Regions from separate parts of the Homo sapiens genome. Here all the other regions are linked to region 7. The links are contacts of gene promoters, found by promoter capture Hi-C in blood cells and fetal thymus (Javierre and others, 2016). All regions are on one chromosome and are shown on one strand. The core of a region is centred on a gene start or on the middle of the fragment in contact, and the rest is flanking DNA. Distances in the headings are between cores, read along the strand shown. Region 1 holds the start of PCGF1 (polycomb group ring finger 1). Region 2 holds the start of DQX1 (DEAQ-box RNA dependent ATPase 1). Region 3 holds the start of M1AP (meiosis 1 associated protein). Region 4 overlaps HK2 (hexokinase 2). Region 5 holds the start of MOGS (mannosyl-oligosaccharide glucosidase). Region 6 holds the start of CCDC142 (coiled-coil domain containing 142). Region 7 holds the start of PRADC1 (protease associated domain containing 1).

The links. The method cuts DNA at HindIII sites, captures the fragments that hold promoters and counts their contacts. A CHiCAGO score of 5 or more calls a contact.
Region 1: a contact is called between the fragment with the promoter of PCGF1 here and the fragment with the promoter of PRADC1 in region 7, in 3 of 17 cell types (fetal thymus, total CD8 T cells and monocytes). The highest score is 8.0, in fetal thymus.
Region 2: a contact is called between the fragment with the promoter of DQX1 here and the fragment with the promoter of PRADC1 in region 7, in 5 of 17 cell types (activated CD4 T cells, fetal thymus, non-activated CD4 T cells and 2 more). The highest score is 9.5, in activated CD4 T cells.
Region 3: the fragment with the promoter of M1AP here is called in contact with the fragment with the promoter of PRADC1 in region 7 in 3 of 17 cell types (naive B cells, non-activated CD4 T cells and neutrophils); the score reaches 7.2 in naive B cells.
Region 4: a fragment that was not itself captured here is called in contact with the fragment with the promoter of PRADC1 in region 7 in 2 of 17 cell types (total CD4 T cells and naive CD4 T cells); the score reaches 6.8 in total CD4 T cells.
Region 5: the fragment with the promoter of MOGS here is called in contact with the fragment with the promoter of PRADC1 in region 7 in 10 of 17 cell types (naive CD8 T cells, non-activated CD4 T cells, fetal thymus and 7 more); the score reaches 17.8 in naive CD8 T cells.
Region 6: the fragment with the promoter of CCDC142 here is called in contact with the fragment with the promoter of PRADC1 in region 7 in 5 of 17 cell types (neutrophils, non-activated CD4 T cells, fetal thymus and 2 more); the score reaches 10.9 in neutrophils.

What each region holds. Positions count from the first base shown.
Region 1 is chr2:74,506,329-74,509,454 of GRCh38, forward strand. PCGF1 (polycomb group ring finger 1) reads right to left here and starts at 1,367. Exons shown (of 9, transcript NM_032673.3): 1 at 1,248-1,367; 2 at 714-819; 3 at 404-556. The coding sequence starts at 1,340. RefSeq lists enhancers at 630-1,560, 1,197-1,376, 2,117-2,176. The HindIII fragment of the contact is 5,812 bases long and covers 1-3,126 here.
Region 2 is chr2:74,524,771-74,527,965 of GRCh38, forward strand. It overlaps DQX1 (DEAQ-box RNA dependent ATPase 1), which reads right to left and starts at 1,461. Exons shown (of 12, transcript NM_133637.3): 1 at 1,366-1,461; 2 at 723-978; 3 at 239-432. The coding sequence starts at 959. It overlaps AUP1 (AUP1 lipid droplet regulating VLDL assembly factor), which reads right to left. Exons shown (of 12, transcript NM_181575.5): 7 at 3,170-3,195; 8 at 2,966-3,068; 9 at 2,701-2,820; 10 at 2,478-2,593; 11 at 2,171-2,289; 12 at 1,882-2,066. The coding sequence ends at 2,030. RefSeq lists an enhancer at 1,559-1,728. The HindIII fragment of the contact is 10,114 bases long and covers 1-3,106 here.
Region 3 is chr2:74,646,472-74,649,587 of GRCh38, forward strand. It overlaps M1AP (meiosis 1 associated protein), which reads right to left and starts at 1,859. Exons shown (of 11, transcript NM_001321739.2): 1 at 1,794-1,859. The HindIII fragment of the contact is 10,572 bases long and covers 40-3,116 here.
Region 4 is chr2:74,847,016-74,850,207 of GRCh38, forward strand. All of the region lies in intron 1 of HK2 (hexokinase 2), which reads left to right. Among named protein-coding and RNA genes, the nearest start is that of HK2, 14 kb to the left of the region's middle. RefSeq lists an enhancer at 2,941-3,080. The HindIII fragment of the contact is 1,944 bases long and covers 719-2,662 here.
Region 5 is chr2:74,463,855-74,466,695 of GRCh38, forward strand. It overlaps MOGS (mannosyl-oligosaccharide glucosidase), which reads right to left and starts at 1,528. Exons shown (of 4, transcript NM_006302.3): 1 at 1,042-1,528; 2 at 642-868. The coding sequence starts at 1,393. RefSeq lists a silencer at 1,095-1,314. The HindIII fragment of the contact is 14,256 bases long and covers 1-2,841 here.
Region 6 is chr2:74,481,713-74,484,985 of GRCh38, forward strand. It overlaps CCDC142 (coiled-coil domain containing 142), which reads right to left and starts at 1,286. Exons shown (of 9, transcript NM_001365575.2): 1 at 105-1,286. The coding sequence starts at 1,125. TTC31 (tetratricopeptide repeat domain 31) reads left to right here and starts at 1,369. Exons shown (of 13, transcript NM_022492.6): 1 at 1,369-1,423; 2 at 1,610-1,698. The coding sequence starts at 1,384. RefSeq lists enhancers at 429-528, 599-718, 829-1,368, 1,689-1,798. The HindIII fragment of the contact is 7,623 bases long and covers 1-3,273 here.
Region 7 is chr2:73,231,568-73,234,706 of GRCh38, forward strand. It overlaps PRADC1 (protease associated domain containing 1), which reads right to left and starts at 1,672. Exons shown (of 5, transcript NM_032319.3): 1 at 1,527-1,672. The coding sequence starts at 1,593. CCT7 (chaperonin containing TCP1 subunit 7) reads left to right here and starts at 2,741. Exons shown (of 12, transcript NM_006429.4): 1 at 2,741-2,817. The coding sequence starts at 2,812. RefSeq lists a silencer at 1,719-1,928 and enhancers at 2,216-2,747, 2,389-2,438, 2,559-2,628. The HindIII fragment of the contact is 3,259 bases long and covers 1-2,711 here.

The DNA.
Region 1 (3,126 bases), core at 117-2,616, 1.3 Mb after region 7:
GCACTTTGGGAGGCAGAGGTGGGCAGATCATGAAGTCAGGAGATTGAGGCCATCCTGGCTAACATGGTGAAACCCCGTCTCTACTAAAAAATATAAAAAATTAGCTGGGCATGGTGGTGGGCGCCTGTAGTCCCAGCTACTCAGGAGGCTGAGGCAGGAGAATGGCATGAATCCAGGAGGTGGAGCTTGCAGTGAGCTGAGATTGCGCCACTGCACTCCAGCCTGGGCAAGACTCCGTCTCAAAAAAAGAAAAAAAAGAATAAAGTATTAGCCCTTCCTCACTTTTTGTCCTTCCCTCATCTTTGGCCTTCTGCCTACGTGAGTCCTACCAAACCCGTCACCTCAAGCTGCCACTCAGCAATTAGTCCTCAAGAGGCCCCTCAAAGTCAGGTTGGTGACTCACTGTCTTGCAAGCCAGGCACCAGCTTATACACGATGTCCTGCATGACCCGGTCCAGTTTGAGGTTGAGCAGTGGCTGTGTCTCGTGGATCTTAATGTTGCACATGGGGCAGTACTTGCTAGTTTGGAGGTACTTCACAATACAACTCTTGCAGACTGCAGGAAAAGAAAAGCAGATTCTCAGGCCCTCTGGAAACTGGATTCATGGGCTGGGTGGGGTGCCTGGATGCGTGAGGCAGGCCGCACAGAAGCTGGCAGTCAGCTTGGTGAAGACTAGGGACTGGAAGAACTAGGCAGTCTCCAAGGCACTCACAAGTATGAAGACACTCTGTGATGGTGGTGGCATCCACGAAGTAGCCGGCGCATAGGCAGCAAACAATGTGTTCATTCAAGTCTTTGATCTTCACTCGAACCTCCTCCTGAAGATACACCCTCCGTCACCAATCATCCACCCTCAAACCCCAACCCGTGCGCCTTCCCACCTTGGGGGTCGCCTCCTTCATCACACTAGACGGCCAAGCCCCGCGCCCTGCGCCATCAGCCGGGGATTAGCTCCTGGGGGCTGGCACTCCCCCTCCGCCCAGCAGAGGGCTCCGCGCACAGCGGGGGCTTCCCTCACGTGGACTCGCCTGACCCTCCTTTCCCAGGGGAGACTACACAACGTCGGCGACACAACGCGCAGGCGTCCTAACCGGAGTTTGGCAACCCGATCGCAACCACGCAGGCGCACTGGGCACTCTGTCTCTGCGCAGGCGCACTGGGCGCCCGGCCAGCCACCGCCCGTCCTTTAGCCCGCCCCAATTCGCACCGCTGGCCGACCACAGCAGTAACCCTGCCGCCCTTGCACCTCGTTCCGTAGCGGGTCCATCTTGTACACTGACTGGAGCTGGTTCCGAAGCCTCATCGCGATCGCAATCTGGCCCCCCTGAGGAGACGCCATCTTAAAGGCTGATCCCAGCCGGCCACTTCCGGTGCCGCCTGCAGGGCGGGACTTGTCTCCCAGCAACGAGGTTCTAGGTCTTTTCGGATTCGCTCACCCTCTGTAAGGCCCCGCCCACGTCCCTTTCTCCCTGTGTGCTCACCTGAGCCCCACCGGCCCCTCCCCTGCTCAATCCGTAATTAAGGAGTGGGGGGGGGGGAGCACAGGGAAGGGTCTTATCTCTTCAACCTCCTGTAGAAATCATCATAATAGGCCCTACGCGACCTCAAGACTAACTTTCGGAGCCTGCGAAAGACTGCCCCCTCCTACCCCCAAAGGCCTGGCAGTCTGTGCCCGCTACCCGCTCAGGGTCGTCGGTCTTCTGTGACGACGACCCTGCTGAAGAAGCCCCTCCTGGGTCCTCTCCTCGTAATGCCGCCCTGTCGGCGTCCGCGTAGCGGAGCTTCGTCCAGATGGCGGGTCTTCTCCCGGCTTCACGGAGGGAGTTTCTTGGGCTTTGCAGAGTCTCGGAGAGGGTGCCGGGGGATGGGGAGTGAGAGACCCCCAGGGACTTGGTAGTGATCTTATTCCCCCATTCTCCCCCCTGCTGCCGGGGATGGGGGGGGCAGGCCCTGGTTAATGATGATGATTTAATCATCGGCGCCTGCGGAGGCCTGGGACAGACTAATGCAGAGCAGATGCCGAAGGAGGAGGGGAGGACGACTAGGACACTGCCACACACAGACAGGCTTAGGCAGCGAGCGCCTGTAGTAGCATAGGCCCAGTCCCGCACTTGGGGACTACGCGGGGTGCTCGCTCGAGAGCTCTACACCGCCGGCTCTGGGTACTTAAAAAGGGATAAATTTGCTATGAGGTATTAACATCAAATGCAACTGGAGATACGAGAAGGGAGAGATTCCAATGGAGACCTCAAAAAAGGCTTTCTGGAGAAAGTGGGACTTTGGGCACAATTTAGACTTGGGGGAGGGGGTGGAAGTGTGGTGAAATAGAAAGGACGTGGAGGGGAATGACCAGAGGACAGGAAGGTCAAGATGTAGATTTGAGAGTGGTAATAGAAAAAGCAGGGCCATAAAGAGTTGCGATTTTTAGCCTGAGGGCAATTGGGAGCTAGCGGACTTTTTTGAAGGGAGGTTATCCTGTGAAAGCGACATTTTTGTTCATTTCTCTTCAGAGTGAATTGAAGTGAATATGCAGCAAGAAGTTATGAGATTAGTGATTAATCAATTATTCGTTACAGCCCCTGTTTACCTACTTCCCTGGTCCGAGCCACTATCATCTGTCCTCTGTAGTGGCCTCTTGACTGTTTTCCTTGAGTCCCCCTTCGCCTGTTCTCAACATCACAGTTGAGTGCTGTTTCTCAGAGCTAGTGATTCTGATAAAACATGAAACACAAAGGACAAAGGACAATTTTTGAGATGTGGATATGTTTATTATTTTTATGGTGATGATGGTATCATGGGTATATACATATGTCAAAACTTATCAAATTGTACACTTCAAATATTTGCAGTTTATATGTCCATTATACTTCAAGAAAGCTATTAAAAATAAAGTTGAAAAATTAGGTTGTTCCTTTTTTACGTTTAAAACCTGTTGAGAGCTTCCCTTTTCAATCAGAATGAAAGTCAAAGTCTCAGAGTGGTGTGCAAGGGCCTGCATAGTCTCTTCAGATACACCAGGATATCCTTCCACTGTGTCCCCAACTTGAAATGCTTAGGTATCCAAAATGGCTCCCTCCTTCTTTCAGGTCTTTACTCATGAGGCTGCTGTAATCACTCTAGATGAA
Region 2 (3,195 bases), core at 211-2,710, 1.3 Mb after region 7:
TACTTGGGAGGCTGAGGTGGGAGGATCACTTGAGCCCGGGAGGTTGAGGCTGCAGTGAGTTGTGATTGCACCACTGCACTCCAGCCTGGGTGACAGAGTGAGACCCTTTCTCCAAAATAAATAAAATAAAAAAGAGTGAGTTGGGCTAAGGGAGGGTATGGTGAGATGCCAGAGGAATGGGTTTGTTTCTACTGAATAAGGGGAATTATATTCGGGTAAGGCCTGCAGAGGCCCCCACCTGAGCAGGGTGTTGGGCCCCGTGCAGTCCTCCTGGGGGATGCTGTATCCAACCTCATGACCCAGGGTCAGGTCCATCTCATCAGCAACCCGCAGAGCCAGGCTCCGGGCTGCAAGAGGGTAGGGCTGAGTAACAGTAACCTGTCCTTTCTGGAACCCTCTGGCCAGCGCAAACTCTGCACACCACTGAGGGATCTGGGATAGAAGTAGGGAAGGAGAGCCAGTGAGGAAGATGTAGGACTTCAGTCAGAAGTGCTCAGGGAACTATGGCCACTTTAATCTTTCCTTATTTGGGGAGTCCCCTGGTCTTTCACCAGCCTCCAGGGCCAACCTAACCCATCCCATCTCTCTTCGTTCACCTTCCTCATGACCCCACGCAGCCCAGTCCCCCCTTGCCCAGGGAAAGGCCACTTTCCCTTTGTCCTCCCTTTGTCCTCCCTTTGTCCACTCCCAGAATCTGCCTGCCCCCACAACCCCCACCACACCTGGGTGCTCTTGCCAGAACCAGGCTCCCCAGACACCAGCACCACTCCAGTGGGGTTACTCTCCAACTGCTCCAAGAAGGTAAAGCGAGCAGCCCAGATGGGCAAGGCTTGGCGCTGCTTCAGCAGCTCATAGTAGCGGGAAGAGAAGGGAAGCCCATCAAAGGGGTTCACAGCCAGTTCAGACTCCCCAGGACTTGGGCCATACTCTTCTGCTAGCCTGAGAGGCTGAGAGGTCATGGTGGCTCTCTGGCAGGACCTGCAGAAGGCAGAGCAGCCAGTAAGGTCATATTTGGTGACCGACACCATCTTCCCACCTCAGCCCTGATCCTTAACCTCTACCTTCAGTTGATCATGCTCTGGGGCCCACCCTTCCCAGCATTTCCTGCCAGGAAACAGTGCTAGGTATTTTGATAAAGGGCTACTGAGAGTTAGTCGACAGTCCCTATAGTCAGGTAGTAGAAATCTACCTGAGACTATTACCCCGTTGGCAGGTAGTAGAAATCTTACTTAGGCAGGGGTCCTCAAGGGCAGTAGAAATTATGTGAGACCTAGTAACCTGTGGGAAAGTCCTGAAGGGAAAAGGATAAAGAATATAGGGGGTGGGGAGAGGAACAGCAGAGTCACAGGGATCCTGGATTCAAACCTGCTTGCAGCTCTAGGACGTGTCAGGACGGCAGTCAGCTCCAGACCCACGTAGTCACCACCAACCCTGACCGTGTGAAGTACAAAGGTAAATTCCGGCTCTACCTCAGGGATGGGCTCAAACTTCAAATCCTGAAGCCTGCTTTTGGGGTGGGGCTATTTGCTCCACCTTATTTAACCTAGTCAGGAACCTATGGAAAACAGGCTCCAGCTACCACACTGAGCATGTGTGAACTCTATAGATGATGTGTAGTGTGCTTGTGAAAGGCATGCTGGGACTTGTAGTTTTGCAGCAGCTTCCTCCAAAACCTGGGCTGATCACCCAAGCTGGGTCTTCAGTTCAGTTACACTTCCTTAATTTATCACTCATCACTTGGCATGAGGAGGTGATTTTAGACAGTTGCAGTCTGACTACCCCCTTCAAATGTACGAGAAGACTCTCACCCCCATCCCCCGCAGCCAAGGAATAAGGAACCCACTCACAGGGCTTTTGAGACCGAGAGAGACAACAGATGCCTTGAATGAAAACCATGAATTTAATGTGACATTGGGGGAGCCTCATCCTTCCCTTTTTACCACCCACCCATCCAGCCTGTTGTGAGTTGGGTGAGGGCTGCCCCCAGTCTCCGTCCTGCGGCTCTGGGTGCCATCCTGTTCCTTTGAGCTCAGTCAGCCTCCTGGGCTCGTCTCTCTGTGAATCTCCTGTGGGACATAGGGAGAGATATTATTCAGGCTTTGCCGTAGTAGCTCCATAATTCCATTCTCCAATTTGCCACATCCTATTAATTGTCCTCTAACCCCCTCACCTTCTTGCGTATTCATATAGTGCTTGCTTGCGCTCCTGCAGGCTCTCCTGCCGGGCCCAGGAAGACTTGGCAAATGTTAGGGCTGTTGGCTGAGGGGTCACCGGGCCAGAGCTGGGAAACTGAGGTGATCACAATGTCAGAGGGCTTGCGGAGTCATCATCATTAAACACGCATCGAATGCCTACTTTGCAAGAGAGGCACTATGCTAGGGTCTCAGGATCAAAAAAGAAAGGTCAGGGATAAGGGAGTACATAGCCTGCCCCCAACTCACCCCAACACTTGGATCTGACCATTTCCTGGGTCTCACCTTGGAGGCAGAGGCTGTGGGTAGGGACTGAGTTCCCTTGGTGATGTCTTCAGGCATGAAAGCTACGGCCCCCTCAAGCAGATTAGTGATAGTCAAGTCTACACAGCCAGTCTTGGCTGGGGAGAAAAGAGAAGGGAGTCCACTCCCTACTTACTTTCTTCCTTCACAACCCACTTTTCCTCCCTGTGCCCATCTCCCAGTGTGGGGCCACCCTTTCCCATACCCAGGTCTCTCTGGATGACACCCAATGGCACATGGGGCAAAACTTCCTTGACTCTCTGAGCCAGAGTTGCCAGTTGCACATCAGGAGAAGGACCAGGGGAGGGAGGGAAAGAAGACTGGGCTGTGGAAAAAGGAAAAAAAGAAAAAAGAAATTCTGGTAAGTAGAGAACTAGAAGGAGAGGCTAACTAGCACAGAAATAGGGGAGGAATCACAGTAGGCCGAAAAAAAAAAACCCCAAAAGCTGTAATGTATAGAGACCACATACCTGACTGGGGGCGCAATCTGGGGTGTCTTTGTCGCTTCATGTGCTCTGCTTTGTCAGCTGGAGTGAGCCGTGTCCCTGTCTGGCCCAATTCCTTGGCCACCAGCTAGGGAGAATTGGAAGACTGGAAGTGTCAAGATCTCAAGCTTTCCTCCCTCTCCTCCTAAGCAGGGACCCCGCCTCCACCCTGTCTGTGCACCCGACCACCTGTTGTACACGGAGTGCAAACTCCT
Region 3 (3,116 bases), core at 609-3,108, 1.4 Mb after region 7:
AAGGATGAAGACATCCTACAGAAAGGGCCACTGGCAAAAAGCTTCATTATTAAAGAAACTTTCAGAGATATTTTACAAAATTGAAGGTACAAAGGATAAAATGTAGGAAACTAACCCAAACTTAGAAAGAAGTATGTCAGTTTGCCAAGACACACAAAAAATGTTTGCTCTCTCATAAGTTTTACTATGAGAGTTTTTTTTCAACAAATAAAACACTTTAGCTCTCAATGTTTCTAATGTTTTAAGTTAGTGTATGAAATAGTTTTACTGTTTTACATTTCCCTATACAGTTAGTAAGAAAGTTTTAGTGTTTTGACAATTTTTCAAGGTTATAGAACAACTGTAATTTTTCCCATTGGTGTTTAAGATCTCTTTGAATGGTTTCAGCTTGCAGTCATTTTTCAATCCCACACTAATGTGCAATTGGAAGACTGTATTTTAAATGAGGTAAGAGGCAGCTCTCTTCCTTACATCCTCAAACATCATCAATTCATGCATCTGATGTGTCTGGGCATAGTACTAAACAGGCTCTGACCTTATTCTGACCCTATACTCTCCACTTTTGCCAAGAACACTCGCTTAATGAATTCTCCCTGCAAACTGGTTAAAACTGGAACTGGGCCTTGAACCACTCCAAACCACCAAGTTATGCCCAAACTAAAAACCCTCCAAGGACTTCCAATTACACCACTGGAAACAGAATCCAATATCTTTACCCTGGCCCTAAAGTTCTGCTTGTGCCTTCTGCCCAACTCTCCATCCTCACACTAGGCCCTCCCCTGCCCGCACCCCGGGAGATCCACCTCTCACAGATCGGCTTCTCGCTGTGTCTGCCTCTGCGGATGTTCTGTTCCGTGCTGAGCATTCTAGGTTAGGGCCCCTTTACAAGCCCTCATTCACTTTGTCGCGTGATAAACGATTCAATGGTTCTCCCTCTGGCAGGGCCCTATTAAAGATTTCGTGGGCCCTAAGGCACTTTCGTCTTCGTGGACCCCTTCCTCCATTAAAAAAAGATTAAAAGAAGTTAATGGATTTTGTAGGCCCTAAAAATCTCATTTCCCCCTCCTGATGTGAGAAAAAAATCAAAACACTTTCTTTGACTTCATGGGTTCACTTTAAACGAAATGAAAACATTCTCGTGGCCGGGCACGGTGGCTCACGCCTGTAATCGCAGCACTTTAGGAGGCCGAGGCGGGCGGATCACGAGGTCAGGAGTTCGAGAGCAGCCTGGCCAACATAGGGAAACCATGTCTCTACTAAAAATATAAAAAAATTAGCCAGGCGTGGTGGCGGGAGCCTGTAATTCCAGCTTACTCGAGAAGCTGAGGCGGAGAATCACTTGAACCCGGGAGGCGGAGGTTGCAGTGAGCCGAGATCACGCCATTGCACTCCAGCTTGGGCAACAAGGGTGAAACTCCGTCTCAAAAACAAAGCAAAACCAGAAGAAAAAAAATTCTCGTGGCTCCCTGAAGCCTCCGTGGTCCCTCGGCATGGCGCCTACCGTGCCTGGCGGATCAGCAGCCCGGCCCTCGGGCCTGGGGGCCCCGCGGAGGAAGCTCCGGGCCCAGACTCCGCGCAGGCCTGGCCGCCCAGAACAGTATGCGGAGGGATGACTCCGACAGCGATTTCGGAGCCTCTCTCGGCGTCAGTCTTGCGCCGGCACCCGCCACGGCCAGCGCAACCAACACCTGCCTGAGGACTGGCCCGAGCTCGGCCCACGCCCAGCCCAGCCTGCGAAGTGGTGCCGGCTGCTCTCGGGCTGCCCTCCCTCCCCGAGGCGTGGAGAACCGTACCTGTCTTCGGAAGACGGAGGCCCCCTCACCTGGTCCTCCCGGCTCTCAGCGTGCGCCCGCGCGTTCGGAGGCGCCCCCCTCAGGCCGGCGCGGCTGGGCGGGAGGCTCACTGCGGGCAAGGCGGGGCCTGGCTGCCTCAGGGTGCGCTTCAGGTGGCGCTTCAGGAAAACGGTCTCCAAGTCCCTAGATACCCTGAGAACAGTCCTTCTTTGTCCCTTAGGTAGAATTTTGTCTATTTGTTGGAAATGCTGTGCTAAACCTGACATTTTTCTTTTTCTACCCCTTCCCATGAAACATGCCAGTAGCTCCCCCACCGACCGTTTTCTTGGTTTTAACTTTTCCCTTCCACATCATTTCCTTCAGCCAGTCGCTATTTTGTTCACTAAACATCTGTGGTGGGCACGTTATGTGCCACGCATTGTGCTAGGATTGGAGTACAGTGGATGTACAGACAATGGTCACTGCCCTCATGGAAGTTATAGCTGCCTTCACAAAGTTCTTTTAAGTCTTTTCAAACTCCTGTATTCCAAGAGGGTCTGTCGCTCTCTTCATACTCATTCTCGCTTACTTGAGGTTGATTCCCATAGTCCCTTTGACGAACTCCAGATGGGGTAGGAGCGTCCTGGTCCTTAACAGTTGGTTGGTCTGGGTCTTCAACTCTGGTTAAAAAGGAATTCTCTGAATTAGTCCACAGGAGAGGGAAAGATAATGCTAGTTCCAAGCTAGAAATGTACAAGCAGTTTTCCTTGTTTTCTTTATTATTATTATTGTTATTTTCTCAGTTCATTGTCTAGATGCAGGTTGGAGGTGGGGTGGGGCAATATTTCAATGAGTGGCACAGGATAGGTTAGATGTTTCAACAGGAAAAGAGTTGCCTGCTTGTATTCTAGTCCCACTAAACCATTTTGCTCCTATCAACTGTTCCTCAGGTAAGAACAGAACTATTTAACCTATGTCCTTTTTTAAACACTATAATCTGATATTCAATAGAGTTCCTGTGTTTCAGTTTAAAGGGTAGCTTCTCAACAGCTCTTTCCCCCCATATAGTCCAAATTAGCCTTTCTGTCTCTAATCTCCAGATTATCGTTTCCACTGATGTTAGAATTGTCCTTGTAAAAATATTTTGATCATATCATTCTTTGTCTTAAAAATGGCTTATGTTTCCTTTTCGGTTAGAGGGTCCATTATAACTGACCCCACCTACCTTACTAGGCTCAACCCCAGCATTACCTGTCTTACTCCCCTTTGTGTTGCTATACCAGAATACCACAGAACAACTAACTTGTAAATAAAGGAAATGTATTCTTAAATTCTGGAGGGTAG
Region 4 (3,192 bases), core at 441-2,940, 1.6 Mb after region 7:
CTAGGGTCTAGAAACTAAAAGGTAGGATTTTTAGCTGTGGTCATCTAGGGCACCTGGAGAGACGGTTCTAGATAATCAATTAGAAATATCCCAAGACTGGGGAGACAAAGTTCAGCTGTGCCACAGGCATCCTGCATCCTTTGCTTTGATGCTTCTATGCTTGTGGAGTAACTTTCTTATCCTATGTGATCACTTGAATTCAGCCCTCTACCAGGAGGGTGTGCCCTGCAGACACAAGTGATGAACATTTGCTTATTCATGTATTATGTATTTTCTGCTTGCTTACTAAAAGGATTTAGTGATTTGGTTCAGCTTTCAGTAAAAAGATTTCTAGAACGAGAGTCATCAAACTGGCGAGATGATTACTGAAAAACTTGACAGGCCAGGTGTGGTGGCTCATGCTTGTAATCCCAGCACTTTGGGAGGCCAAGATGGAAGGATTGCTTAAGGCCAGGAGTTTGAGACCAGTCTGGACAACGCAGTGAGACTCTGTCTCTACAGAAAAAATAAAATTAAAAAAATCAGCTGGGTACGAGGGTGCATACCTATAGTCTTAGCTACTTGGGAGGCTGCAGTGGAAGGATCATGAGCCCAGGAGTTTAAGGCTGCAGCCTAGGAGTTTGAGGCTGCAGTGAACCATGATTGCGTCATTGCACTCCAGCCTGGGCAGCCGAGCAAGACTCTGTCTCTAAAGTTAAACAAACTTGACGAAGCTCCAAGCTTCCTGACAGTCAAGGCAAAAAGGATAGTTAGTTCTCTTTGAGTCAGTCGTTTTCATCCCATCGGCCTATAACAGGTAGCACAGTGTGTCTGGGCAGCCAGACTTTCTCCTGACACTAACCCTTACTGGGGACTGAATGGCTAGGGAAGCATTAGTGAAAGACACAGCAGCTTTACCTGGTGCAGTGGTCTTTATAGTCTTTCCTGTGAGCCCTTGATTAAAAGTGATAGAACTAAACCTATGAAGCATTTCATGGGGAGCTAATGTAATGTTGTGAAGGTGAGGAGCTTTCTGTTCCTGGAATTGGTAATTTCCCAGGGTCTTAGGGGCTTGCCCATGCCTCCTGAGCCTTTTCACACTGCTGTCTCTAGGTAAGCATTTATCTGCTAAGGTGGCTGAGCTCCAAAAGTATCCCCTTTGATTGCCAGTCTCTCAGGCCACTTAAATCTGTGACACTTCCCATGGGCTGCCTTGTATTGTGCCCGACATTCTTATTAGACAAGACTCATCTCTCCACGCATTCTAGAGACACTCATTGATCTATAATATGAGCCAGCTTCTTTGATATAAAGTCCTAGAGAGCAGGGCTGTTGATTTCTTAAAATTTTTAAGAATTGTAATAAAATATTAATCACAAAATTTACCATTTTAACCATTTTAAGTGTACAATTTAGTGGCATTAAGTGTGTTATTCACATTGCTGTGCAACTACCACCACTATTCATTTCCAGAATTAATTTCTTGTAAAATTATGTTTCTGTACACTAGTGCTTTGTATTTAATAGCTGTTCCATAAATGCCATAACATGGAAGATGCTGGGGTTGCAACAGTAGTCAGGATTCAGGGATTGAATGATACGGATCTTACAGACTTAGACATTGAAATTTAAGGTTTCGTTTCGTCTACACTTCCCTTTTAAAACCCTTGAGTACCTTACTCAAGGTAGGATCTGTAGTACTTCATATAAAAACTGTCAAAATTGGAATATTGCTGTCTTCTGGATGTAAATAATTTGATCAAGGCCAGGTTCCCACAGGGACCAGATGGGGTGGGCTCAGGATCCAGGCAGTGGCACCAGTCTTTCAGTTGCATTGGGCCTGCAGAATGAGATGGGCGCTTCTGGGCCAGAAGGGTTGACATTCATCCAGGTGATCCAGATTCTAGTTTCAACTGTGTGACCTGGGTCGAGGCTGCTCCCCGATGGGCCTGGTTTCTCTGAGATCCCTTTCTTGCAGTCACCTCCAGGCCTTTCCTTCCTGGGCTTCCCCATACCTGGCCAGGACTGTGTATGGCCCACCCTGCACACTGCATACTTCGAAGTGGAGCCTCCATGAATGTCCCCTTTTGTTCTCTCCATTTGTTGCTTTGTGACAGTGACACAATTTCCTCTCCTTTTTTAAGTGCTGGTCTGGAGGAAAATGCAGGTACTTAAGGGGATGGGTGTTAATGGCTTCCCATTTTGGGTATTATCTTATTTCCTAGAGAGTATGGGGTTAATTTGTCTTTAGGGCTTCCCCTGACACCAACCCCAATTCTGTAGAGGAAGTGGGCATGTCAGACTGGTATGTTATGGGAAAAACTGAAACTGACCAAAATTACCCAATGAGGAAGCTCTGATCTAACCCTTGCTGAAGAAATATCAACTAACAGTGCTATCTCTGTCTAACACGCCCTCGCTTCCTGGGCTGGCAGCTTGGCAGGCAGACGGGAAGGTAACCCGTTCTTCAGCCAGGCTTTGCTCTGGCCTGCCTCCGATTCCCCAGCCTGGAATGCCCCCTCCTCCTTTCCTCCTCTCCCAGATAGAGATTTAAAGAGAAGCAGCCTTGTCCATGCCCATCACAGAAAGAGAAGGAATAGTTTGGGGAAACAGCCTCTGCTTTGTGACTAAGGAGGGTTGAGAAATGTCTGTGATTGCCTGAAGGTGACCCTGGGTGGAGAGAAGCTTTAGAAGAAAGAAGGGGTGGAAGGAAAGGGGGGGTGATAGAGAACTCTTTTGTCCCCACAGTTATGCTAATGACTCTGTCATGTGGGGCTATTCATCCTGTTTTGTGGCAAGGAAGCTGGGGTTCAGATGAAGAGTCCTCTAATGTCGCACACCTGTACGAACGCTACCACTAGGATTTGCATACTGGTGTTTCTGATGCCAGAGCACTCCTTTCACCACCACCAGCTACAAATCAAGGGTTGACCTGAATGAGTCTGCTTTGATAGTATCCAGAAACTTACATCTCTTAAAAACAAATGCAGAGTTTGTCTTCCCAACTCCCAGCAGGCTGGATCAACACAGGATTACTTCACAGGGTCACACCTGGCCTAATATCTTAACCACCGACTCTCAAAGATTCCAGGCAGAAAAGTGATATGCAGTGTTGATCAGAACAGGGCCAACCACGATCACGTTATTGGCATATTGGAAACCTCCCAGAGGAGAGGGGAAGGTGTTTGAGCCCCAGCCTTAGAGGTGTCATTT
Region 5 (2,841 bases), core at 278-2,777, 1.2 Mb after region 7:
GGGTTTCACCGTGTTAGCCAGGATGGTCTCCATCTCCTGACCTCATGATCCGCCCGCCTCAGCCTCCCAAAGTGCTGGGATTACAGGCGTGAGCCACCGCGCCTGGCTTTTTTTTTTTTCTTGAGATGGAGTTTTGCTCTTGTTGCCCAGGCTGGAGTGCAATGGCACGATCTCGGCTCAGCGCAACCTCCACCTCCCTGGTTCAAGCAATTCTCCTGCCTCAGCCTCCCAAGTAGCTTGGATCACAGGCATGCGCCACCACGCCCGGCTAATTTTATATTTTCAGTAGAGACGGTGTTTCTCCATTTTGGTCAGGCTGGTCTGGAACTCCTGACCTCAGGTGATCCGCCAGCCTCGGCCTCCCAAAGTACTGGGATTACAGGCGTGAGCCACCGCGCCCAGCCTCTTTTTCATTTAATTCTTACAGTCCTGTGAGTTAAGTGCTATTATTATCTACATTGTACATTTTACAAGCAAGGAAATCAAGGCTTAGAGATGGTAAATAGAAATGGTTATACAGGCAGTTGTTTAAGGCAGGATTTAAGCCAGGCAGCCAGAGCCCACTTCATGCTGCATTTGCTGGCAGCAAGGGAAGGATGGAGGGGGTCTGGGCTGAGAAAAGGGTGTCCTGAGGCCCTGACCTGAGGCTCTACAGTCACTCTCCAGCTCCAGTCCCCTCCGTGCTGACCCCCAGGCCTCTTGACGAACTCAGTGGTGAGCCTTAAGGCCCCATCCTGGATGTGTTGGCGCCCGAAGGAGAGGCCGTCGTGGAACTCCCAGCCATAGGGACCCACACCGTCCCCCTGCTCACACGTGTGCCTGAGCTTAGGAGTCCCCGGGGTGGTGCCCTGCTGCGCCCACATCAGTCCTGGGGGTAGAATGGCCACGTAAGTCAAAGAGCAGGGGACCTGTCCCTCCGGGTCTCCGGGTCATCCCTCTTCATAACTCTCCTGATCCATTCCTTCCCACCCTTGCTCTCGCTTCAAGCTGGGGCGCCCAGATTAGGAGTCCGCCTGCCTGCCCGCCCTGGGGCCCGGTTACCGGTGAGGAGGGGCTTCGGGCTGCGGGTCTTCATGCCGAAGTAGACGTGAGGGCGGTAGGTTCCCCAGAAGAGGTCCGGGGCCACGGCGGGGCTGGAGGAGTCGGCAGGCAACACAGGAGGCGCGGAGTGCAGCGTGACCGCCCGCCGCGCACGGTACCACGCCAGCACCCAGCGCCCCGACATACCCAGGGCCAAAGACAGGACCACGACGGCCAGAGCCACTCCTCCAGCCGTGCTACGCGGCCCGCCGCCCCGGCCGTCCCGTCGCCCGGGGCCTCCCCGAGCCGCCCTCTCGGCTGTCCGCACTCCCTCTGCCGGCACTGCGCGGCGCCGCCGCTCGCCCCGAGCCATCCTGGCACTGAGGTCCGCGTCACAAGAGCTCGGAGAGGCGGCAGTGGAGCCCGGGTCCTGCCTCACCTCTCCGGCTCCCGCCTCTCGCCCTGGCGACCACCGTCCGGTTAGCGACACCTGCCAGCCAGCGCCTGCGCCTCCGCCTCCGCCTCCCGCCGGAAGTCCCGCCCCGCCACGTTAGGTTAAGTCCCAGAGTCCGGAACCGCTGCCTGCGGCTTGACACAGGGTTGGTACGTAGCGTCTGTCCTGGGCGTTGGTCCACCGGGATTGCGTTTATCTGGCGACCCCATGGAGTTCACAGGCTCGGAAAAACCAATCTAACGTTGGGCTGAGGCATGAGAATCGTTTGAACCCGGGAGGCGGAGGTTGCAGTGAGCCGAGATTGTGCCACTGCACTCCAGCCTGGGCGACAGAGCGAGACTTCGTCTCAAAAAAAAAAAAAAAAGACTGATGTGGCCAGGCACCGAGGCGCACATCTGTAATCCCAGCACTTTGGGAGGCCGAGGCAGGTGGATCACCAGACATGAGGAGTTGGAGACCAGCCTGGTCAACTTGGTGAAACCCCATCTCTACTAAAAATACAAAAATTAGCCGGGTGTGGTGGTGGGTGCCTGTAATCCCAGCTATTCGGGAGGCTGAGGCAGGAGAATTGCTTGAACCTGGGAGGCGGAGGTTGCAGTGAGCCGATATTGCGCCATTGCACTCCAGCTTGGGCAACAAGAGTGAAACTGTTTCAAAAAAAAAGAAAGAGAGAGAGAGAGAGAGATGGAGGGAGGGAGGGAGGGACGGAGGGAGAGAGAGAGAGAGAGAGAGAGACTGATGCTTTATGCAACACGACCACTTATATTTCACTATAATCTGACTGGTGGCCCCACTCTCCACTAGTGGTAGACTTTTTGCTTATGAAATCATCTGACCAAACCCAATGGTTAGTCCTGTTTTTGTCTTTCTTGCTACCGTTGCATTTGTCGACATCCTTATTGTAGCACTTATTACATACCTGTTTCATTTTTCATCTTTGTATCACAGTACTAATCAATTATAGGCATAAGGCAGATGCTAAATATTTATAAATTCAACACATGTTTATTGTACACCCTATATCGCATTATGCAAGGTGCTGGGGACTCAGAGAAAATGGCCCCAACCTCAAGTTCACAGTCTAGAAGCACAATGCCAGCACTCAATGCATGTTGAACCATACCCATTTTTTTTTTTTTTTTTTTTTTGAGACGGAGTCTCGCTCTGTCACCAGGCTGGAGTGCAATGGCATGATCTCGGCTCACTGCAACCTCTGCCTCCAGGGTTCAAGTGATTCTCCTGCCTCAGCCTCACGAGTAGCTGGGATTACAGGTGCCCACCACCACGCCCAGCTAATTTTTGTATTTTTAGTAGAGATGGAGTTTCACCAGGTTTGCCAGGCTGGTCTCGAACTCCTGACCTCAGGT
Region 6 (3,273 bases), core at 36-2,535, 1.2 Mb after region 7:
CTAAAGGGCCTGCTTTTGCCTTCAGGATGGCAGGTCAGTGAGTTGGCCAAGGGGAAGGAAGAGACCCCAGCCTTCCCAAACGCCCACCCAAGCCCATCACTCACCCTGACCCAGTGCCTGACTCAGCTGTTGCGCTGTTGCCCTGGGGTCCCTCCAGGGTCCCAGATTTAGGTCCAGACTCTGAGCACAGGCTGCCCACAGCAGGGTCCAGTATTGGCTCCACAAGGCCCCAGCCCCTCCGAGCCCTAGTCCACAGCTGGCTGAACCCGCCACGCCCCCGACCAGGCCCAGCAGCCCTGGTAGCAGATCCCCCTCCTCTTGGCACCGCCTGCGGAGCTGGTCCCTCAACGCCGATCCTTGGAGCGCCTCGTCCAGCCGACTTGCCACCTGGCAACCCCGCTCCCCCGTCAAGAGGCGGAGCACACGGGACGTGGGGAAAGGACGTGCGGCCCCTGGGACGTGGCTCAAGGCTTTTCTCTGTAGTGTGTGGTAGGCGGGAAGTGCAAAGAGCAGCTCGGCGAGTTGGGACGACAGGCCCGGGCTGGCGGGCTCCCGGCCGAGAGCGCGAAGCTGCATCTCGATGACAGCCTCCAGGCACTGGGCGGCTAGTCCGATGGGGCGCGCTAGCAGCAGCGGCTCGAGAGTCTCCCCAGGGCCGATTCGCAGAACCGCCCCTTGGGAAGGGTGCAGCTGCAGGTCGCGGCACCACTGGGGCAAGGGGCTAGGGCCGCCGGATGGCGAGCCAGGACTCAGGGTCTTCATGAGTCGCACAGCCGACTGTAGGTGGTAGGCGCAGTCTCGGGCCTGGAGGAGCTGCTCCCGCTCGCGATGCAGCCGCAGCAACACCGCCCGGAGACGCTGCAGCGCGGGAGGGATCGGGCCGCCACCTGCGGGCCCCCGCCTCCAGGCCGCAGCATCAGCCTCGTAGTCCTCGCTCACATCCGCCGGCGTCGGCCACCACGGCGTCCCTCCAGAAGTTCCGCTCGGCCAGCAGTGAACCTCCCAGCGAAGACCGCCCGTTCGACTTCTCTCCCACTGCTCCTCCCCAGTGCCCCCGGGTTGCGCCCTCAGCGGGGGCACGATAACGAGTGGAGGCAGGCTACCTGAGCGAGACGCCTGGGCCATGGGGCGGCGGGTCCAGAACGAACCTAACGATTCCCACTTCCCTGCACGGACCAACGCCCGCCGCAGCTCGGACTTCGCCCCATCGCAAGAGCCGTTTTCTCCAGTCCGGGAGTCGCGGGGACCTTCATGGACTCTCTCGTGCTCCGTAATGGGAGGCTTCTGCCCCTAACAAACATGGCCGCCCACTCTGTCCCACCCCGCCCTTTGGCTGGTATCAAATACTAGACTACCTTTCATTTCCGGGTCACTGTAGATGCGATGGCGCCGATTCCAAAGACTGTGGGGCGGATCAAGCTAGGTGAGCGGTATGACAAGACCAGTGGGGGTCTAGGAGGGCAGAGGCAGCCCCTCTTGGGTCCACCTGTGGTCTGAACGTTTCGAGTAGGATTTTATGCAGAGGGCGGAGAGTCGAGGGTAGAGTGGGGAGGACTCTAGCCCATCTGTCCCGAGCCCGCTGACGAGGCTCCGCCTTCCTTTCCTGTAGACTGCTCTCTACGGCCCAGCTGCCCACTGGAGGTCGCTGCTGCACCCAAACTTTGCAAGGAATTCGGTCCAGAGGATTACGGCGAAGAGGTAAAAGCGACCCTCAGTTTCCCCCAGTCCTGCTCATTTTGGTCACGCCTCTTTGAAGTCAGCTGTGCAGAAACCCGCGACGGATGGGCGCCAGACGGGGCTCTGGAGGCTTTGGGGAGTTGTAGTCTCCGGCCATGCCCTTGAGGATCTTAGGCAAGTGAGGGGCAGGGGATCAGGAGGATGATCCTGATGTAACAGATGCTCGAAGTGGGTAGAATTGAGCAGACAAGGGTCTCTGAGTTGAGGATTAGGGAGTGGGTACGAGTTCCTTGGGAAAAGATGGAGGCCGGGCGCGGTGGCTTGTGCCTGTAATCTCAACACTTTGGGAGGCTGAGACGGGAGGATTGCTTGAGCCCAGGAGTTAGAGACCAGCCTGGGCAACATAGTGAGACCCCATCTCTACAAAAATGTTTTTAAAAAATTTAGCCCGCGTGGTGGGTGGGGGATCTCTTGAGCGCGGGAGGTCAAGGTTTCAGTGAACCATGATCGTGCCACTGCACTCCAGCCTGGGGAACGGTGAGACTCTGTCTAAAAAAAAAAAAAAGCTGGGCCCAGTGGCTCACACCTGTAATCTCAGCACTTTGGGAGGCCTAGGGGGGCGGATCACTTGAGGTCGGGAGTTCGAGACCAGCCTGGCCAACATGGTGAAACGCCATCTCTACCAAAAATACGAAAAACTAGCTGGGCGTGGTGGTGTGCGCCTGTAATCCCAGTCACTGGGGTTACTGAGGCAGGAGAATCGCTTGAACCCGGGAGGCAGAGGTTGCAGTGAGCCAAGATCACACCACTGCACTCCAGCCTGGGCAACAGAGGGAGACTCCATTTCAAAAAAAAAATGAAAAAATATCTTTTTATAGATGGAGGGGACAGTGTGAGCAAAGACAGTAAAACAAGGAAAAGTTGAGAGAACTTTACCAAAGTGAGACCAGAGTAGAGAATCTGGTTGGAACAGTAAAAGATGGGGTGGGAGAGAAGGCAGCAGATGGCTTGAAAGGCTTTGACTTAGCACAGGGGTTTGGATGTTCTCAAGTAGGCAACAGAGTTTTTTTGTTTTTTGTTTTTTTTTAAGATGGAGTCTCACTCTGTCGCCCAGGCTGGAGTGCAGTGGTGTGATCTTGGCTCACTGCAACCTCCGCCTCTCTGGTTCAAGCAATTCTTCTGCCTCAGCCTCCTGAGTAGCTGGGACTACAGGCACATGCCACCAGTCCCAGCTAATTTTTGTATTTTTAGTAGAGACTGGGTTTCACCATGTTGGCCAGCATGGTCTCGATCTCTTGACCTCGTGATCCGCCCGCCTTGGCCTCCCAGAGTGCTGGGATTGCAGGTGTGAGCCACCATGCCCGGTAGACAGCAGGGTTTTCGAAGGAGGGACAGGATCAGATTTGGAAGCATTGAGGCGCTATACTCCCTAGAATCTCAAACTCAAACCCAAAAGTTAATTTAATTAACTTTTGTTAAATTAATTTATCATGTTTGTAAATTGGTTGCTTTTCTTCTAATCCCAATTTTGGTTAATAACACAAACTTTCATCTAGTTGTTTAATCTGGAAATCTGATAATCATTTTATATCCCTT
Region 7 (3,139 bases), core at 422-2,921:
CACCATGCCTGGCTAATTTTTTTTTGTATTTTTTAGTAGAGAGGGTTTCGCCATGTTGACCAGGCTGATTTTTTTTTTTCATTTTTTAAATAGGAATGGGGTCTCGCCTTGTTGCCAGGGCTTGTGATCCTCCCACCTTGGCTTACCAAAGTCCTGGGATTACAGGCGTGAGCCACCGCACCTGCCCTGGATTCATAATTTTTAAATATCTGCCTCTTCCACTTTGTAACTTCATTCAGTGAAGAGTCACCAGTGTCTTGCACAGTGGCTACAATATAGGGATAGCCCTATAAACTTTCCTGAATGGGTGAACAACTATATCTAGCTCCACAGCACCGATGAAGAGAATTTCCAGACCACTAGATTTTTCTGGGGCATGGGATCTTCTCCTCAGCACCAAAGTTTAATGTTGTACCTGGACTTGAGTCCCTGGTTTCCTTAACCCAGAGAGACTGCGGAATGTTGAAAGATAAAAACTGCTGTCATGGGCGGGCGCGGTGGCTCACGCCTGTAATCCCAGCACTTTGGGAGGCCGAGGCGGGCAGATCACGAGGTCAGGAGATCGAGACCATCCTGGCTAACACGGTGAAACCCCCGTCTCTACTAAAAATACAAAAAAATTAGCCGGGCGTGGTGGTGGGCGCCTGTAGTCCCAGCTACTTGGGAGGCTGAGGCAGGAGAATGGCGTGAACCCGGGAGGCGGAGCTTGCAGTGAGCCGAGATCGGGCCACTGCACTGCAACCTGGGCGACAGAGCAAGACTCCGTCTCAAAAAAAAAAAAAAGAAAAAAAGAAAACTGCTGTCACAAGTCTGTTAGTCTATCAACAAACTACCAAGTCACTACTGTGTACCAAGGATGGCATTAAGGCTTTAGCTGTCTTTGTTTACTGCCCAAATCACAGCCATCAGTTAGAGCTCCCATGGCTTGGCACTGGGCTATACAGTCCTGGGAGTGGGGACTCCCTCTCGGATACAAATACACCCCCAGAAAGCCTTCCTGGACTAGCGTCAAACTCACTCCCTCCTCCCCAACCCTTGCTTGCCTTTGTGTGTGCTTATTTGTGTAAGTTGTGGGTATACGTATGTGCTCACTTATGTGCATAGATGTATACATTTATGTGCTTGTGTAGGTGTAAACGGTTTGTGCGTGTGTGCCCACGTGTAGGAATGTGTGCTCCTGTGTACATGTGAATGCTCACATACATATCTCCAGCCTGTAGTATCCTTCCTTAGCTGTCCCTTCTGGTCGCACCCTAAGTCACCTGGGTCGGCGCTAGTGGGCGGGGAGGGGCGAGTGGGGAGATCTGCTTTGTCGTGGGAAGGTGAGGAGTCAGAGCTTCAGCCTCAGGCTGCGCCCACTTTATGTCCTTGGACCACCACCCACTTATTCCGGCCGCCCGCTCCCAGACCTGTCCTGCTCTGAACTCGCAGGGTCCCCAAGGTGACCCTTGGCCCCCAACCCGAGACGCGCGCAAGCTGGACGGCCAGCCCCGCCCTGCAACGCAGTCCCACCCGTTGCCGCTCACCGTGGGCCGCGACGCACGCGGGGAGCCAGAGCACGAGACAACACCAGCCCGCGGCGCCGGGGACCATCTCCAGGGCCGGGCCCGGCCCGGCGCCGCGTTTCCTCTCGCCGCCCCGCCGCGCGTCGCTCGCAGGACTTCAGCCTGACAGCTGCTCCGGCCTCCCGCCCACATACCCGCTCTCGCCGCGGGCTGGACGACGGGAACGAGGCTCAAGGCTGATTGGCTCTGACGCCTGCTCATGTAGCCACACTTTCCGCCTCTGCGCCTTAGCCTACTTCCTATTGGTCGAGAGAAGTGGAGCCGGGGGCTGATTGGCTTAAACTCTTAACAGCTACAACCGGCCTTCGCCTCAGCCCCGCCCCAGCATACTCTCCGGGTCCTCGCTGGCGGTGGGCGGGCCAGGGAGGACAAGCACTGGAGGTGTGCCCGTAGCCGGACTTGCTTCAGCTGTCGATAGTCGAGGCCGTTAACCCTTGCGGTCTCGGTCCTGTCCACTCCAAGGCCGCCTCGATTGACGACGATTAGCCTTCTCCCAGCTGCGCTTCCCTCCTCCCAGCTGCGCTTCCCTCCTCCCCACGCCTTCACGGGAAGGCACTCGTCTTGCGCCAGGGGGTCTTCCGCCCAGTGCCACCAACGCTTGCGCGCTCACCGTGGATAGGCGCTGGGGCCGCGGCCTGGCGCACGCCATCCACGAGGAGCCTCTGGCCAGTGCAAAGCCAGAAAACGGGCATTGGGGGCAGCTTCCCACGCTCGTCCCGTTGACACTGACTATGTAACTGTGACACTGGACACCTTGACCTCTCAGCCTCCTTTCTGTCATCAGTAAAATGGCCTTAATAGGACCAACGCAATAGGGTTGTGAGGATTAAATGAGATCGCTCACGTAAAGTGCTTTGGCACCAGCCTATCCCACACTTTGCGTCCCACACTTTTGCCTTTATTGCATTCCTTGGTCTGGCGTCCGGGGATGGAGGAGGGTGGAATTAAGTTAGTAGGTGATGCGGGCCGAGCAAAGACCCTCCGTGCTCTAAGAAGCACGACCGAAATGCGGCGACCCCTCTTTAATGAACGCCCCTCACTAGAGAGTCCCCGAAGCCCAGCCTCAGGTCCTTCTAGCCGCACCGAGTCGGTGGTAACGAACCATAGAGTAGCGGAAGTGGTCCGTTCTCTTCCTCTCCCGGCCCAAGCTTCTGGGTATTTCTATTGCGCGAGGCATTGTGGGTTGCTGGGCGGCCCGGTCTCGGAGAAGAGGGGAGAGTGGCGGGCCGCTGAATAAGCTTCCAAAATGATGGTGAGTGGCGTCTCGCGCATCCGTCGCCATCAGCTGCCATCTGGCCGGTGGCCGGCGCCGCTCGGCCTGGGCTTGCTCTGTAGGACCCTCTTTTGCTTGCCGCCTCTGTCCTCGCCCAGATCCCCAGCTTAGGGGCGACCCCAGCCAGCCGCGGCCTGGCTCGGCCCGAGCACGGCGCTGGAGCCGTTGGCGAGGGCTGCGTGGGGCTTTAGAGGAGTCTCTGGGCTGGCCGGTTGGGGACTACAAGTCCCAGGGTGCTTCGGGCCCGCGAACCCACGTCGGGGACCTCTTTTTTAGCCCCGCATGATCGGGACTTGCGTGA